2 separate regions of the Homo sapiens genome follow, and region 1 is linked to region 2. Evidence: promoter capture Hi-C in 16 types of primary human blood cells and fetal thymus (Javierre and others, 2016). All regions are on one chromosome and are shown on one strand. Each heading gives the region's core, a stretch centred on a gene start or on the middle of the fragment in contact. The rest is flanking DNA. Distances are from core to core; before and after follow the strand shown. Region 1 holds the start of LOC124907951 (a long non-coding RNA gene). Region 2 holds the start of MARS2 (methionyl-tRNA synthetase 2, mitochondrial).

What was found. The method cuts DNA at HindIII sites, captures the fragments that hold promoters and counts their contacts. A CHiCAGO score of 5 or more calls a contact.
Region 1: a fragment that was not itself captured here is called in contact with the fragment with the promoter of MARS2 in region 2 in 1 of 17 cell types (neutrophils); the score reaches 5.3 in neutrophils.

The regions. Positions count from the first base shown.
Region 1 is chr2:197,471,048-197,478,378 of GRCh38, forward strand. COQ10B (coenzyme Q10B) reads left to right here. Exons shown (of 5, transcript NM_025147.5): 5 at 2,710-4,263. The coding sequence ends at 2,877. It overlaps LOC124907951 (a long non-coding RNA gene), which reads right to left and starts at 1,994. Exons shown (of 2, transcript XR_007087903.1): 1 at 1,794-1,994. The HindIII fragment of the contact is 620 bases long and covers 1,434-2,053 here.
Region 2 is chr2:197,700,357-197,707,618 of GRCh38, forward strand. It overlaps MARS2 (methionyl-tRNA synthetase 2, mitochondrial), which reads left to right and starts at 5,013. Exons shown (of 1, transcript NM_138395.4): 1 at 5,013-7,262. The coding sequence starts at 5,050. The coding sequence ends at 6,831. RefSeq lists a silencer at 4,827-5,066 and enhancers at 5,207-5,256, 5,297-5,416. The HindIII fragment of the contact is 9,491 bases long and covers 1-7,262 here.

The DNA.
Region 1 (7,331 bases), core at 494-2,993, 230 kb before region 2:
AGAGTGAGACCCTGTCTCAAAAAATTTAAAAATAAAACATGCAGAAATAAGGTAATATATTTTTTTCATTTTTTTGCATCTAGAGTCTGGTAACTTTCTTTTTTTATTTTTTTGAGATGGGGCGCTACTTTGTCACCCAGATTGGAGTGCAGTGCTGTGATATTGACTCAGTGTAACCTCTGCTTCCCTGGCTCAAGTGATCCTCACACCTCAGCCTCCCGAGTAGCTGGGACTACAGGAATGCACCACCACACAGGCTTATTTTTGTATTCTATGTAGGGATGGGGTTTTGCCATGTTTCCCAGGCTGGTCTCGAACTTCTGGGCTCAGGAGATCTGCCTACCTTGGCCTCCCAAAGTGCTGGGATTACAGGCGTGAGCCACCGCACCCAGCCTAGTAACTTTCTTTTTCATATAATCGTAGTTATAGAAAACTTAAAGCAATTTGTGGCTTTTTCTTTGCCAACAGGTAATATGGGAGTTGTTCTCTGTACAGGCAACTTGGGCATTGAATTTTAAGAAATGGTGGCAATTTTGACTAAATTATCGTGTGCTGTTCTCAGCTCTTGAGTAATTTTCATTAAAGCATTATAGACATTAATAGGACAATTGGGGCCAAGCACAGTGGCTCACGCCTGTAATCCCAGCAATTTGGGAGGCCGAGGCGGGCAGATCACTTGAGGTCAGGAGTTTGAGACCAGCCTGGCCAACATGGCGAAACCCCATCTCTACTAAAAATACAAAAATTAGCCGGGTGTGGTGGTGCATGCCTGTAGTCCTAGCTACTTGAAAGGCTGAACCAGGAGAATCACTTGAACCCAGGAAGTGGACGTTGCAGTGATCTGAGATCGTACCACTGCACTCCAACCTGGGTGACAGAGTGAGACACTGTCTCAAAAAAAAAAAAAAAGGACAATTGGGAAAATTTGAATAAGGTCTATATAAATTAGATAATAGCATTATTATCTAGTAGTAGTAACTCCCTCTGTTAATTTCCTGATTTTGATAATTGCAGTATGGTTATTGAAGACATTAAAATAGGGAAATATGGGTAATGGGTACATGGGAATTCTTTGTATTATTTTGTAGTTTTTTTTTTTTACAAAAATGAAATTATTTCGTAATGAAAGATAAACATTTTAATATTTAGAGGATATTTGGTCCTTAAAACACAGTTCTCAAACCAGTTGTCTTGAATTCTATATGGAACAATGAGAGGGTATAAATAAAGTTCTGAAAGGGTATCCAAGGGAGAGAATACAGTCATGGGTTCTTAGTTTCTGTTTCTGGTTGGGCCAGTAAAGCCTCTTCCTCATCCCTCTTTTCCACTTAACCACTAGAGACAGAAACTAAAACCCATGGCTTCAGGCTGTTAAAAGCCTAAAACAAAACAAAACAAAACAACAACAACTACAAAATAAGGTGGATTGGACAAGCTTGTCCACATCATTGGCTACTTTAAGATTGAACCACGTGGCCGGGCGCAGTGGCTCATGCCTGTAATCCCAACACTTCGCAAGGCCTAGGTGGGTGGATTACCTGAGGTCAGGAGTTTGAGACCAGCCTGGCCAACATGGTGAAACCCCGTCTCTACTGAAAATACAAAAATTAACTGGACGTGGTGGCAGGTGCCTGTGGTCCCAGCTACTCTGGAGGCTGAGGCAGGAGAATCGCTTGAACCTAGAAGTCAGAGGTTGCATTTGAGCCGAGGTTGGGCCATTTCCAGCCTGGGCGACAGAGCAAGGCTCCATCTCAAAAAAAAAAAAAAAAAAAAAGAAAGATTAAACCACTTACACCATCTGCCCTGTGGGTTAGGCACACATGTGCATGCACACTTCCAGCCTCCTCTTCCTGCTGGTGCTTCTCAGTGATACCTATGAGAAGGATCACTTTCCTTCCTTATTTCCTTTTGTGGGATAGGATGGATCTAAAAGGGACACATTAATAAGAAGGCATAGTGATTAATGTATTCAGCAAAGGTTTTTTCCAGTCTTCTCTTATTAAGAAACAGACTTTTTCCCTTGAAATGAGATTTCATTGGCCTTCTTTATGTAAGCTTATTGTGCCAGCAATTGTGCTTGTTGCAGTAAAAGAAGATTCCCTCTTTTGTGGGGGTGCTAAAAATCCCACCTACATACATCCACACAATTCTACCTTAGATACCCAGTTCATAGTGTGAACACCACTGTCCTAAGTGGAGATTTAGTTTAAAAAAAATCTTTCTGGCTGGGCACAGTGGCTCATGCCCATAATCCCAACACTTTGGGAGGCTGAAGTGGGCAGAATTGCATTAGCCCAGGAGTTTGAGATCAGCCTGGGCAACATGGCAAAACCCCTTCTCTACGCCCCCCCCCACAAAAAAAAAAAAAATATATATATATATATATATATATATACACATATATACATATATATATATGTATATATACACGTATATATATGTATATACGTATATATATACGTATATATATACACACACACACACACAAATTAGCCACATGTGGTGGCATATGCCTGTAGTACCAGCTACTTGGGAGACAGAGGTGGGAGGATTGCTTGAGTCCAGGAGGTTGAGGCTGCAGTGAGCCGCAATTGTGCCACTGCACTCCAACCTGGGCAACAAAGCGAGAGTCCCTCTCCAGGAAAACCAAAAAAAAAAAAAAAGCAAAAAATAATTTTTTCTAAAATAATTTTCAATATTTTCCTACAGATTTCTTTTGAATTTCGATCACTTCTACATTCCCAGCTTGCCACACTCTTTTTTGATGAAGTTGTGAAGCAGATGGTAGCTGCCTTTGAAAGAAGAGCATGTAAGCTGTATGGTCCAGAAACAAATATACCTCGGGAGTTAATGCTTCATGAAGTCCATCACACATAAAGGCAAAAAAGAACTGGTGCCACCTGCTTCTGACTTTAGTTTGTTCACTTTTAGGAAGTATTTTCATGACATGTTTTCAGAAGCCAGAAAGCATTTGTTAAACGCAGCTTTGGTTATAAACCTGCACCATTGAAAATTTGCACATAGAATATAGACTCACTTGTACATAGAATTATTTCTTCAAGTATAATTCAAAATAATATGGACATTATCATGTTCTGCATTACAATAATGGGATGTCATCACCATTGCTAGAATACTGGCATGATTCTTCTGAGCAGAAGTTGAAACTGTAAATTTAAACCTTTTAATTATCACCTTACCTGAAAGAGGTTAGTTAAGATATTCACACAGTATGTATTATATTAACCATATCACACTTAAGTTATTAAATTCAGACTATTTGTAACTTATTGTTATAGGGCCTGCCGTATGGCTTAGGATATTTGAGTAATCATATATTTAAAGTAAAAACTTTGGGCTGGGCACAGTGGCTCACACCTGTAATCCCAGCACTTGGGGAAGCTGAGGTGGGCAGATCAGTTGAGGTCAGGAGTTCTAGACCAGCCTGGTCAACATGGCGAAACCCCATCTCTACTAAAAATACAAAAATTAGCTGGGCGTGGTGGCACACACCTGTAATCCCAGTTACTTGGGAGGCTGAGGCACAAGAATCGCTTGAACCCGGGAGGCGGAGGTTGCAGTTAGCCAAGATCGCCCTGCTGCACTCCAGCCTGGGCAACAGAGGGAGACTCTGTCTCCAAAAACAAAAACAAAAACTGTTAGTGAAGGTTCCCTGGGACTTTTGATATTTTAAAAATTGTTCTTATGACTAGTAGATAAATTCATTGCCATAATGAGGCTAGCTCCCAGATAAACAGTGTATTTTCTTCTTTTTTTTTTTTTTTTTGGTGAGTGGTCCAGAGCTTTAAGCTACTTTTCCAGTAGTTTGCCACTTTCTCCGAGGTAGTTTGGCTGCTCTTTCAGTAATGCTAATTGTGTGTCAAATTTTGTCTACAACAGTAGGCAACAGATGAAGATAAGTTGGTTGAATGTCTCCAGCACTATGCATCCCTATTTTCTATTTATTGTGTACACTCACTTTCAGTAATGTGTTTCAAACTGGTATTTTTTAAAAAACAAATCAATGTAAGGACTGAAGTTGAAGTAGCAATGTAATAAAGTTAATTTGTTTATTTTTTGTACAGTTAGTTTGGTTATTGAAATCTTCCTATATTGTTTAAATGTGTATTTGCATAGACATAGTAAAGTGTTACAGCATTTCATGTCTTAAAAATATCTATGAAGATATCTAAAATATCTATTTCTATGAAGAAACAGACTTTAACAAATATAAGCAAAATTCAGTTTTCTTTTAACCAGTCATTGATCTCCTGTCCTCCTTTCACTACATACCAACAACCCTCTGGCATTAAACTTCCAGTGATAGTGCTATTAACTTTGTTTCCTCAGGTCAACAAGGGACCTCAGTAATTAGTTCTCTACATAAGTATATATATGGGTATTAATTTGTTTAATAAATCTGTTTTGAGCACCTGCTTTCAATCAGACACTGGGTATAGAGTGATGAAGGATTCATATCAGCCTCTACTCATGAGGAGCCAGGTTGTGCTCTCACACAAGGTAAGCAGTATCTTTCCACTTACAGATGAGGTATTTGCCAAGAGCATAAGTAGTTTGTATATAGTTATATACCTTTTTTTTTTTTCTTTTCTTGAGACGGAGTTTCGCTTTTGTTGCCCAGGCTGGAGTGCAATGACGCGATCTCAGCTCACCGCATCCTCTGCCTCCCACGTTCAAGCAATTCTCCTGCCTCAGCCTCCTGAGTAGCTGGGATTACAGGCATGCACCACCACACCTGGCTAATTTTGTATTTTTAGTAGAAACGGGGTTTCTCCGTGTTGATGAGGCTGGCCTCAAACTCCCAACCTCAGGTGATCTGCCTGCCTCAGCCTTCCTAAGTGCTGGCATTACAGGCGTGAGCCACTGTCCCTGGCCAGTGTACCAATGTAGCTTTTTAAATAACAAAGTTTTTTTTTTTTTTTTGGCTGGGCACGCTGGCTCATGCCTGCAATCCCAGCACTTTGGGAGGCTGAGGCAGGCAGATCACGGGGTCAAGAGATTGAGACCATCCTGGCCAACATGGTGAAACCCTGTCTCTACTAAAAATACAAAAATTAGCTGGGTGTGGTGGCGTGCGCCTGTAGTCCCAGCTACTCGGGAGGCTGAGGCAGGAGAATCACTTGAACCCAGGAGGCGGAGGTTGCAGTGAGCAGACATCACATCACTGTATTCCAGCCTGGCGACAGAGGAAGATTCCACCTCAAAAAAAAAACAAAAAACAAAAAACTTTTTTTTGTTGTTTCGTTTTGTTTTTTGTTTTTTTGAGACAGAGTCTCAACTCTGTTGTCCAGGCTGGAGTGCAGTGGCACAATCTCGGCTCACTGCAACCTCCGCCTCCCAGGTTCAAGTGATTCTCCTGCTTCAGCCTCTCAAGTAGCTGGAGAGTATCAGCGCGCACCACCACATCGGCTAATTTTTGTATTTTTTAGTGGAGACGGTTTCACCATGTTTCCCAGGCTGGTCTTGAACTCCTGACCTTAAATGATCTGCCGGCCTTGGCCTCCCAGGGTGTTGGGATTATAGGCGTGAGCTACTGCACCCGGCCACAAAGTTTTTTTAAAATGGCAAAGTCATTTAAAGCTTTTTAAAAATAAGACTCAGACATTTTATTATCTCCATGTACTGTATTCTCTTTTTTAAAAAATTATTTATTTATTTATTTATTTTTAGAGACAGAGCTCCCTTTGTTGCCCAGGCTGGTCTCAAACTTCTGGGCTCGAGCACTCCTCCTGCCTCAGCCTCCCAAAGTGTTGGGATTGCAGGCCTTAGCCACCATGTCATGCCTGTATTCTCTTTTGATGGAAATAGGAACCCATACTTTATCACTCCTTTTACAAATGCCAGCCAGGTACAGTGGCTCACACCTGTATTCCCAGCACTTTAGGAGGCTGAAGTGGGTGGATTGCTTGAGCCCAGGAATTTGAGACCAGACTGGCAACATGATGAAGCCCCATCTCTACAAAAAATACAAAAACTCATTTCCCCTTTGCGAGGGTGCTCATTGGTTTATGTTAAATTTTAAGGAAGTTGTAAACTTGGGGCTAAACTCAGTTGCCTATGTCTCTCAAATTCTAGAAATTAGTACTAAAATTATCCAGGTGTGGTGGTATGTGCCTATAGTCCCCGCTACTCAGGAGGCTGAGGCAGGAGGATAGCTTGAGCCTAGGAGGTCGAGGCTGCAGCGACCCGTGATCATGCCACTGCGTCTCAGCCTGGGCAACAGAATGAGACTTTATCTCCAAAAAGAGACAAAAATGGTTCTAGTAGTGTTCTAATAGTTAACTCCAGTGTTCCCTTTATACAACAAACACAGTGATCATTTGAGTGTTAACAAATGGATCTTGGGTCTTTGCAGGTACTTAAGGCCAAGTTTAGAGTGTCAGAGTTTATATATCTGGAGTCCATCTGATTCTGCGTAACAGCATTCTAAGCTCAGACCTTCCAAGAAGGAGATAGACCTGGTCAGGAGTTTTTCTGAGGGCAATTTTACGATACTCTCCTTTTATTTTTCCTCCCCTGTTTATAAGAGAAAGAGTTCATAAGATCGTGATATATAGACCTCTGGAATTTCATGGGACTGACCACCTCAGTTTTCAAGGCTCAAGTTTTTAGGCATTTAACAAAATTATTTTGTTTTGCACACTTACATAGCACTAGATGCCAGGCAGTTTAAAATGCCTTGTAAACATTTAATCATAACTTTTTGAGGTAGATACTATTATCCTCATTTTACATAGAAAAAGTTTTATAAAGAGAGGTTAAGTAACTTTTCTAAGGTCACAGTGACTGGTAAAGACAGGATGAAAACCCCACACATTCTGGCTCTAATATCTATGCTCTCTTGTTTGCTTTATCTAGCCCAACAGTCTTGAGGCCATGACTTCTGATTCTGTGGTGGGCAGGTCTATGCAAACCTAGCCACAAAAGCTGAGGAAACTGAGAGGCAGAAGAAAGGTGGACAAATCCAGTTTCTCAGAAAGAAACATTTAATAGGGACCTACACACAGGAGCAGAAGCCATGTTTCGGGGCGGCTGCAAGATAAGATGGTGGATCCCCTGATGGATCATCATGGTCCCAGGGCTTATATACCTTAGGCAACTAAGGGGCGGGATTTGTAGTATGTGTTACAAAGCAACATCAAGCTTGTTTTGACCTAAGGGCAAGATTTGCAGTGAACAGTAGATAAAGTAGAACTCTTAGAGGCATTGTAGACTTAAAACTTGGCATCTATGCTTTACATATAATAAGGGGGAAAACAATATCATGTCTATAAACTTTTTGAAAATGGCATCTGGCCAGTGGAATCTGA
Region 2 (7,262 bases), core at 3,763-6,262:
TTGCCCAGGCTGGAGTGCAGTGGCCTGATCTCGGCTCACCGCAACCTCCACCTCCCTGGTTCAAGCAATTCCCCTGCCTCACCTTCCTGAGTAGCTGGGATTACAGGCGCACACCACCACACCCGGCTAATTTTTTTGTGTTTTTCATAGAGACGGGGTTTCACCATGTTGGCCAGACTGGCCTCGAACTCCTGACCTCAGGCAATCTGCCTGCCTCGGCCTCCCAAAGTGCTGGGTAATCCCAGCCGTGCCTGGCCTGTTTATTTTTTTAAAATATTCTTTTTTCTTTGTCCTTGTCTGATTGGGTTAATTTAAAAGAGTTGTCTTTGAGCTCTGAAGTTCTTCTTCTACTTGTTTGATTCTGTTGTTGAAACTTTTAAGTGCATTTTGTGTTTCTCTAAATGTGTCTTTCATTTTCAGATGTTGTGATAGTTTTTTCTTTATGATATCTATTTCTCTGGAGCGTTTTTCATCCATACTCTGTATTGTTTTTTAAAATTTCTTTCTCTGGTATCTTTTCGAGAAGCCGAATAATCACCCTTCTGAAATTTTAATCTGGCAATTCAGAGATTTCTTCTTGGTTTGGATCCATTGCTGGGAGCTAGTGTGGTCTTTTGGGGGTGTTATAGAAACTTGTTTTGTCATAATACCAGAATTACTTTTCTGATTCTTGCTCATTTGGATAGACTATTTCAGTGGAACAATCTGAAACTCAAGGGCTGCTGCTCAGATTCTTTTGACTCATGGGGTGATCCCTTGATGTGGTACACTCCTCCTTTCCCTAAAGATGGGGCTCTGGCGAGCCAGTCTGCAGACTGATTGTTATTGCTCTTCTGGGTCTAGCCACCCAGTGGTGCTACCAGACTCTAGGCTGGTGCTGGAGAATGTCTGTGAAGATTCCTGTGTTGCAATTCGTCTTTAGGTCTCCCAGTTGTGGATACCAGCACCTGTTCTGGTAGAGATGGTAGGGGAGTGACGTAGACTCTGTGAGAGTCCTTGGTTGTAGATATGTTTAGAGTGCCTGCTTTCTCAAATGCTGGTTATGCCAGCAGTGAAGCTGTCACGTGGACAGATTCAGAACCACTGGTTAGCCAGGATGTTGCAGGCAGTGGAATTAGCTGTTATTTTCTCCTTCCTTGGAACAGGGTTGTTCTGTCATGAGTTGCTGTAATGTCCTGAGTTGGTTGGCCTCTAGCTGGGAGGTGGTGTTTTTGAGATAGCACCAGAGTTTTTCACCTGTCTTGTGGAATTTGCAGGGGCCTGCCACTTATTTTAAAGGATCTGTGATTTGTTATGGTTTTCCTGATATGCTCCTGCAGTGGTTGCTGGAGCAAAAGTTCATGGTGTGAATCTGCCCACACTGTTCTCTCCATCCAAGTGGGAGCTGCACATCAGCCCTGTCTCCTAACCACCATCTTCCCTCTCTCACTTTTTTCTTTTTTATTGCTGAGTAATAGTCCATTGTATAGATATATCTCATTTGTTTATCCATTCATCAGATGATGGACATTTGGGCTGTTTCCACCTTTTGTCTATTGTGAATACTGCTGTTATAAATAAATATTAGTGAGATAATACTTTACATCTATTTGACTGACAAAAATTAAGACAGACAATACCAAATACTGGAGAGATCTATTCAAGGGTATATTGCTGAGTAGAGTGTAAATTTGTTTAACCATTGGAAAATAACTTGGCATTATTTTGAAAAATGGAAAACTCATACTCTCTATGATCCAGCAATTTCATTCCCATGTATATATCCAAGAGAAACTTCAGCATATAGGCACCAGGAGACATATACGACAGTGTTAATAGTAGTATTGTTTCTAAGAGTGAAAACTTGAATCACTGAAGTGTGTATCAATGGCCATTTCTTTAAGGAGTTCTGCTCTAAAGGGAAGGAAAGAAATGGTGCAGTAATGGAGGTTGAGAATTTTTTTTTTAAATGGGAGAAAAAATAGCACACTTGTATGCTGAGGCAGTACTTCAATGGAAAAGGAAAAAAAAATAGTAAGAATTTCTGGATAACCTGGTTTCTCAGACACTTAGCTTCCATTTATCTGCCAGTTCTGGAGGGTGCCGTATATACCTTCCAGTTTTAAGTTTTACCTATGTTCACTTGCCATTTTAAAAAAAACTTGTATTAGGTTCAGGGTACATGTGCCTGTTTGTTATATAGGTAAATTGTGTGTCACGGCAGTTTGGTGTACAGATTATTTCTCCACCTAGGTAAAAAGCATAGTACCCGATAGATGGTTTTTCAGTCCTCACTCTCCTCCCTTCCTCCACCCTCAAGTAGGCCCCAGAGTCTGCTGTTTCCTTTTTTGTGTCCATATGTACTCAATGTTTTGCTCCCACTTGTGAGAACATATGATAGTTGGCTTTCTGTTCCTATGTTGGTTAACTTAGGATAATGGCATCCAGCTCCACCCATGTTGCTGTAAAGAACATGATCTTGTTCTTTTTTATGGTTGCATAGTATTCCATGGTGTATATGTACCACATTTTCTTTATTCAGTCTACTGTTGATGGGCATTTAGGGAAGATTCCATGTCTTTGCTATTGTGAACAGTGCTGCAATAAACATGGGAGTGCGTTTTTTTTTTACAGTAGAATGATTTATATTCCTTTGGATATATACTCAATAATGAGATTGCTAAGTCAAATCATAATTATGCTTTGTGTTCTTTGAGAAATCACCAAACTGCTTTCTATAATGGCTGAAGTAATTTACATTCCCACCAGCAGTGTATGTGTTGCTTTTCTCTGCAACCTTGCCAGCATCTGTTGTTTTTTGACTTTTTAATAATATTCATTCTGACTGGTGTGAGATGGTATCTAAATGTGGTTTTGATTTGCATTTCTGTAATGACGAGTGATGTTAAGCATTTTTTATATGCTTGTTGGCCGCATGTCTATCTTCTTTTGAGAAGTGTCTGTTTATGTCCTTTGCCTTTTTAATGAGGTTTTTTGCTTATTGATTTTTAAAATTCCTTATAGATTCTGGATATTAGACCTTTCTTGGATTCATAGTTTGAAAATATTTTCTCCCATTCTGTAGATTGTCTGCTTACTCTGTTGATAGTTTATTTTGTGGTGCGGAAACTCTTTAATTAGGTCCCATTTGTCAATTTTTGTTTTTGTTGCAATTGCTTTTGGCATCCTCATGATGAAATCTTTGTCAGGTCCTATGTCCAGAATGGTATTTCCCAGGTTACCTTCTAAGGTTTTTAGTTTTAGGTTTTACATTTAAGTCTTTAATCCATTTTGAGTTGAGTTTTGTATATGGTATAGGAAGGGGGTCCTGTTTCATCTGTATATGGCTAGCTAGTTATCCAAGCACCATTTATTGAATAGGGAGTCTTTTGCCCATTGCTTGTTTTTATCAACTTTGTTGAAGACCAGATGGTTGTAGGTCATTCTTAAACTGCTGGATTAAATAAGAGCACATCAACTGAGTATCCAAAGTTATTTTTTATATCTCTTATACAGAATTCGATTGGTCCACCTTTCATCATATCACTAGAGAAATCAGATCCAAGTTACCATATGTGTTCAGTCAAAGGTTATTATACAGCAGTCAAAATGAATGAATTACATGCAACATGTATTAAGAACATATGAATGCAGTTACATGCAACAACATGGATTAATATAGCAACAAAATGTTGAATAAAAAGGCAAGTTGAAGACTACATGTAGTATTATATCCTTTTTAGAATATTTAAATGCAAGCAAAATTAAACAATGTTACTTAGACATACTTTGTATGTGATCACACAAATGTGCAAGAACAAAATTCAGGACAATGACTACCTCAGGGAGGACAGTACGAGAAGAAAAGGAGCACACAGATCTAAATCACTGGTAATTTTCTAGTTCAGTGTTTCTCAAACTTTAATGTGCATCAGAATCACCTTAAAATCTAAATTACTGGGCCCTACCCTCAGAGTTTTCTGGTTCAGTATGTGGGGGATGGGGCCTAAGAATATACATATCGAACGAAGTTCCAGGTGCTGCCAGTTCTGCTGCTCTGGGGACCACACTCTGAAACCACTTGTAGTTCTTAGATTGGGTTGTAGGTTCATAGCTGCTCCATTTTATTATTAAATGTATATGCTACTTAAATTAAATTAAAAAAAAAAGATCAAAGATGAGAGTGTGTTATGAACTAGGGATTAACATTAATTCAATTCTGGGCTCCTGAGGTTTCCTCCCCTAAAAAAAATTCTAAGGTTCCATTACTAAAAGCAAACTTGAGAAACACTATTTTAAAAGAACTTCAAGACCATTAAAAAAATTAACTTTTTGAGAAATAAATTTGAAAATTATTCTTTATATGCACAGTGACAGCATATTGCACTCTACTTTCCTGGATCTCAATAAACTTTGGCAAGAACTTGGCAGATCACAAATCTACTTTTGTTGATTCAACAAAAACTGTTTAAAGACTTCTCTTCCATTCTCAGTTCTTATCCTTCTCTCAAAATGCTGTAGGTAATGATTTTTCATCTTTTTTCTCTCTCCCTCCCTTACAGATTGATTTAGGCTCTGAGATAAAATTTAGGTGACATTTTAGATATCGACAGGGCATGTGCAGAGCAATACTCTGTCTTGCAGTATGCCAGCCACGGACGGGGTTTAGACAAACGGCTGAATATAAAACTCTTGCCTACAAGCAGCTCAGCCTAGAGGGGGAAACAGATTCATAAATATAAAATTACAATCCAAAGCAGGAAACACAGTATGTTATACGAAGGCAAAGAGGTTCGTCTTCTTTCATAGCCTCTCCTAAACCCGGCAACTCTGAGCTGTTTTTCTGGCAAGCCGCCGTCCATTGGCGGCCTCTGGCGCCGCGGCTTTCGGCGTGCGGACGGCGCAGGCGCGGGCGGGGCGGGGCCGGGCGGGGAGGGCGGTGAGGGCCGGCGCTCGGGGCCGCGTTTCATTGGCTTTCCGGCCGGAAGCTGCGGCGCGACCCGGCTGCGCATGCGCCTCTCACACGTGCTGTCAGAACGCCGCCTCCTCCGCTTGCGGCCGGTCTGCACCATGCTGCGAACGTCCGTCCTCCGCCTGCTAGGACGCACGGGGGCTAGTAGGCTGTCTCTCCTGGAGGACTTCGGCCCACGCTACTACAGTTCGGGCTCCCTCAGTGCCGGCGATGATGCTTGTGATGTGCGCGCCTACTTCACTACACCCATTTTCTACGTGAACGCGGCGCCGCACATCGGGCACCTGTACTCGGCACTACTGGCGGACGCCCTATGCCGCCACCGTCGCCTCCGAGGTCCCAGCACGGCCGCCACGCGATTCTCCACTGGTACCGACGAGCACGGGCTGAAGATTCAGCAGGCAGCAGCTACCGCGGGCCTGGCCCCGACCGAGCTGTGCGACCGAGTCTCTGAGCAGTTCCAGCAGCTTTTCCAGGAGGCCGGTATCTCCTGCACAGATTTCATCCGCACCACGGAGGCCCGGCACCGGGTGGCTGTGCAGCACTTCTGGGGGGTGCTTAAGTCCCGCGGTCTGCTCTACAAGGGCGTCTATGAAGGTTGGTATTGCGCTTCCGACGAGTGCTTCCTGCCTGAGGCCAAGGTCACCCAGCAGCCGGGCCCATCGGGGGATTCGTTTCCTGTATCTCTCGAGAGCGGGCATCCAGTCTCCTGGACCAAGGAAGAAAACTACATTTTCAGGCTTTCCCAGTTCCGGAAGCCACTCCAGCGGTGGCTGCGGGGCAACCCTCAGGCGATCACCCCCGAACCATTTCATCACGTAGTTCTTCAGTGGCTGGACGAGGAGCTGCCCGACCTGTCCGTGTCTCGCAGAAGTAGCCACTTGCACTGGGGCATTCCGGTGCCCGGGGATGATTCGCAGACCATCTATGTATGGCTGGATGCCCTGGTCAACTACCTCACTGTAATTGGCTACCCAAATGCTGAGTTCAAATCTTGGTGGCCGGCCACCTCTCATATCATAGGTAAGGACATTCTCAAATTCCATGCCATCTATTGGCCTGCCTTCCTGTTAGGGGCCGGCATGAGCCCGCCACAGCGCATCTGTGTCCATTCCCACTGGACAGTCTGTGGCCAAAAGATGTCCAAGAGCTTGGGCAACGTGGTGGATCCTAGGACTTGCCTTAACCGCTATACCGTGGATGGCTTCCGCTACTTTCTCCTTCGGCAGGGCGTCCCCAACTGGGACTGTGACTACTATGATGAAAAGGTGGTTAAGTTGCTGAACTCCGAGCTGGCAGATGCCTTGGGAGGTCTCTTGAACCGATGCACTGCCAAAAGAATAAATCCTTCTGAGACCTACCCAGCCTTCTGCACTACCTGCTTCCCTAGTGAGCCAGGGTTGGTGGGGCCGTCAGTTCGTGCTCAGGCAGAGGATTATGCTCTGGTGAGCGCAGTGGCCACTTTGCCAAAGCAGGTAGCAGACCACTATGATAACTTTCGGATATATAAGGCTCTGGAGGCCGTGTCCAGCTGTGTCCGGCAAACTAATGGTTTTGTCCAAAGGCATGCACCATGGAAGCTGAACTGGGAGAGCCCAGTGGATGCTCCCTGGCTGGGTACTGTGCTTCATGTGGCCTTGGAATGTTTGCGAGTCTTTGGGACTTTGCTGCAGCCTGTCACCCCAAGCCTAGCTGACAAGCTGCTGTCTAGGCTGGGGGTCTCTGCCTCAGAGAGGAGTCTTGGAGAGCTCTATTTCTTGCCTCGATTCTATGGACATCCATGCCCTTTTGAAGGGAGGAGGCTGGGACCTGAAACTGGGCTTTTGTTTCCAAGACTAGACCAGTCCAGGACTTGGCTGGTGAAAGCCCACCGGACCTAGAAACTCAGTTCTTACCGGCTTGTGGTAAAAAAGCAAATGTGTTATCTTTTTATTTTTTATTTTCAGGAAAGTTATACTAGTATTTTCTTAAGTGTGGAATCAAATGAGCACATAAGCTGTGTCCCTGTGAAAAGAGGTTTGTAGCCTTTCAGGTGCCTGCTCCTATTCATTTCTCTGTGACCATTGATCACTGTCCTTTGTGCATTGTGTGTCTAAGATGTCTTCAGGGGAAAGATGGGTAAGAGACAGTGTTGCTAATGCTGTTCCTTCTTTGTGCCTCCTTCCAAACCACAGTTATTTGCCCAAACTACCTCTCGTGGCTGGTTTTTCATTGGCCTGGCCTCTGCTTCTCAGGCTAATTAGTGACTCCTTTCTTTGAGGGTCAGGGTTGGAGGCCCCTTACTGGTGGTTTTACAGGGGGATCCTACTTT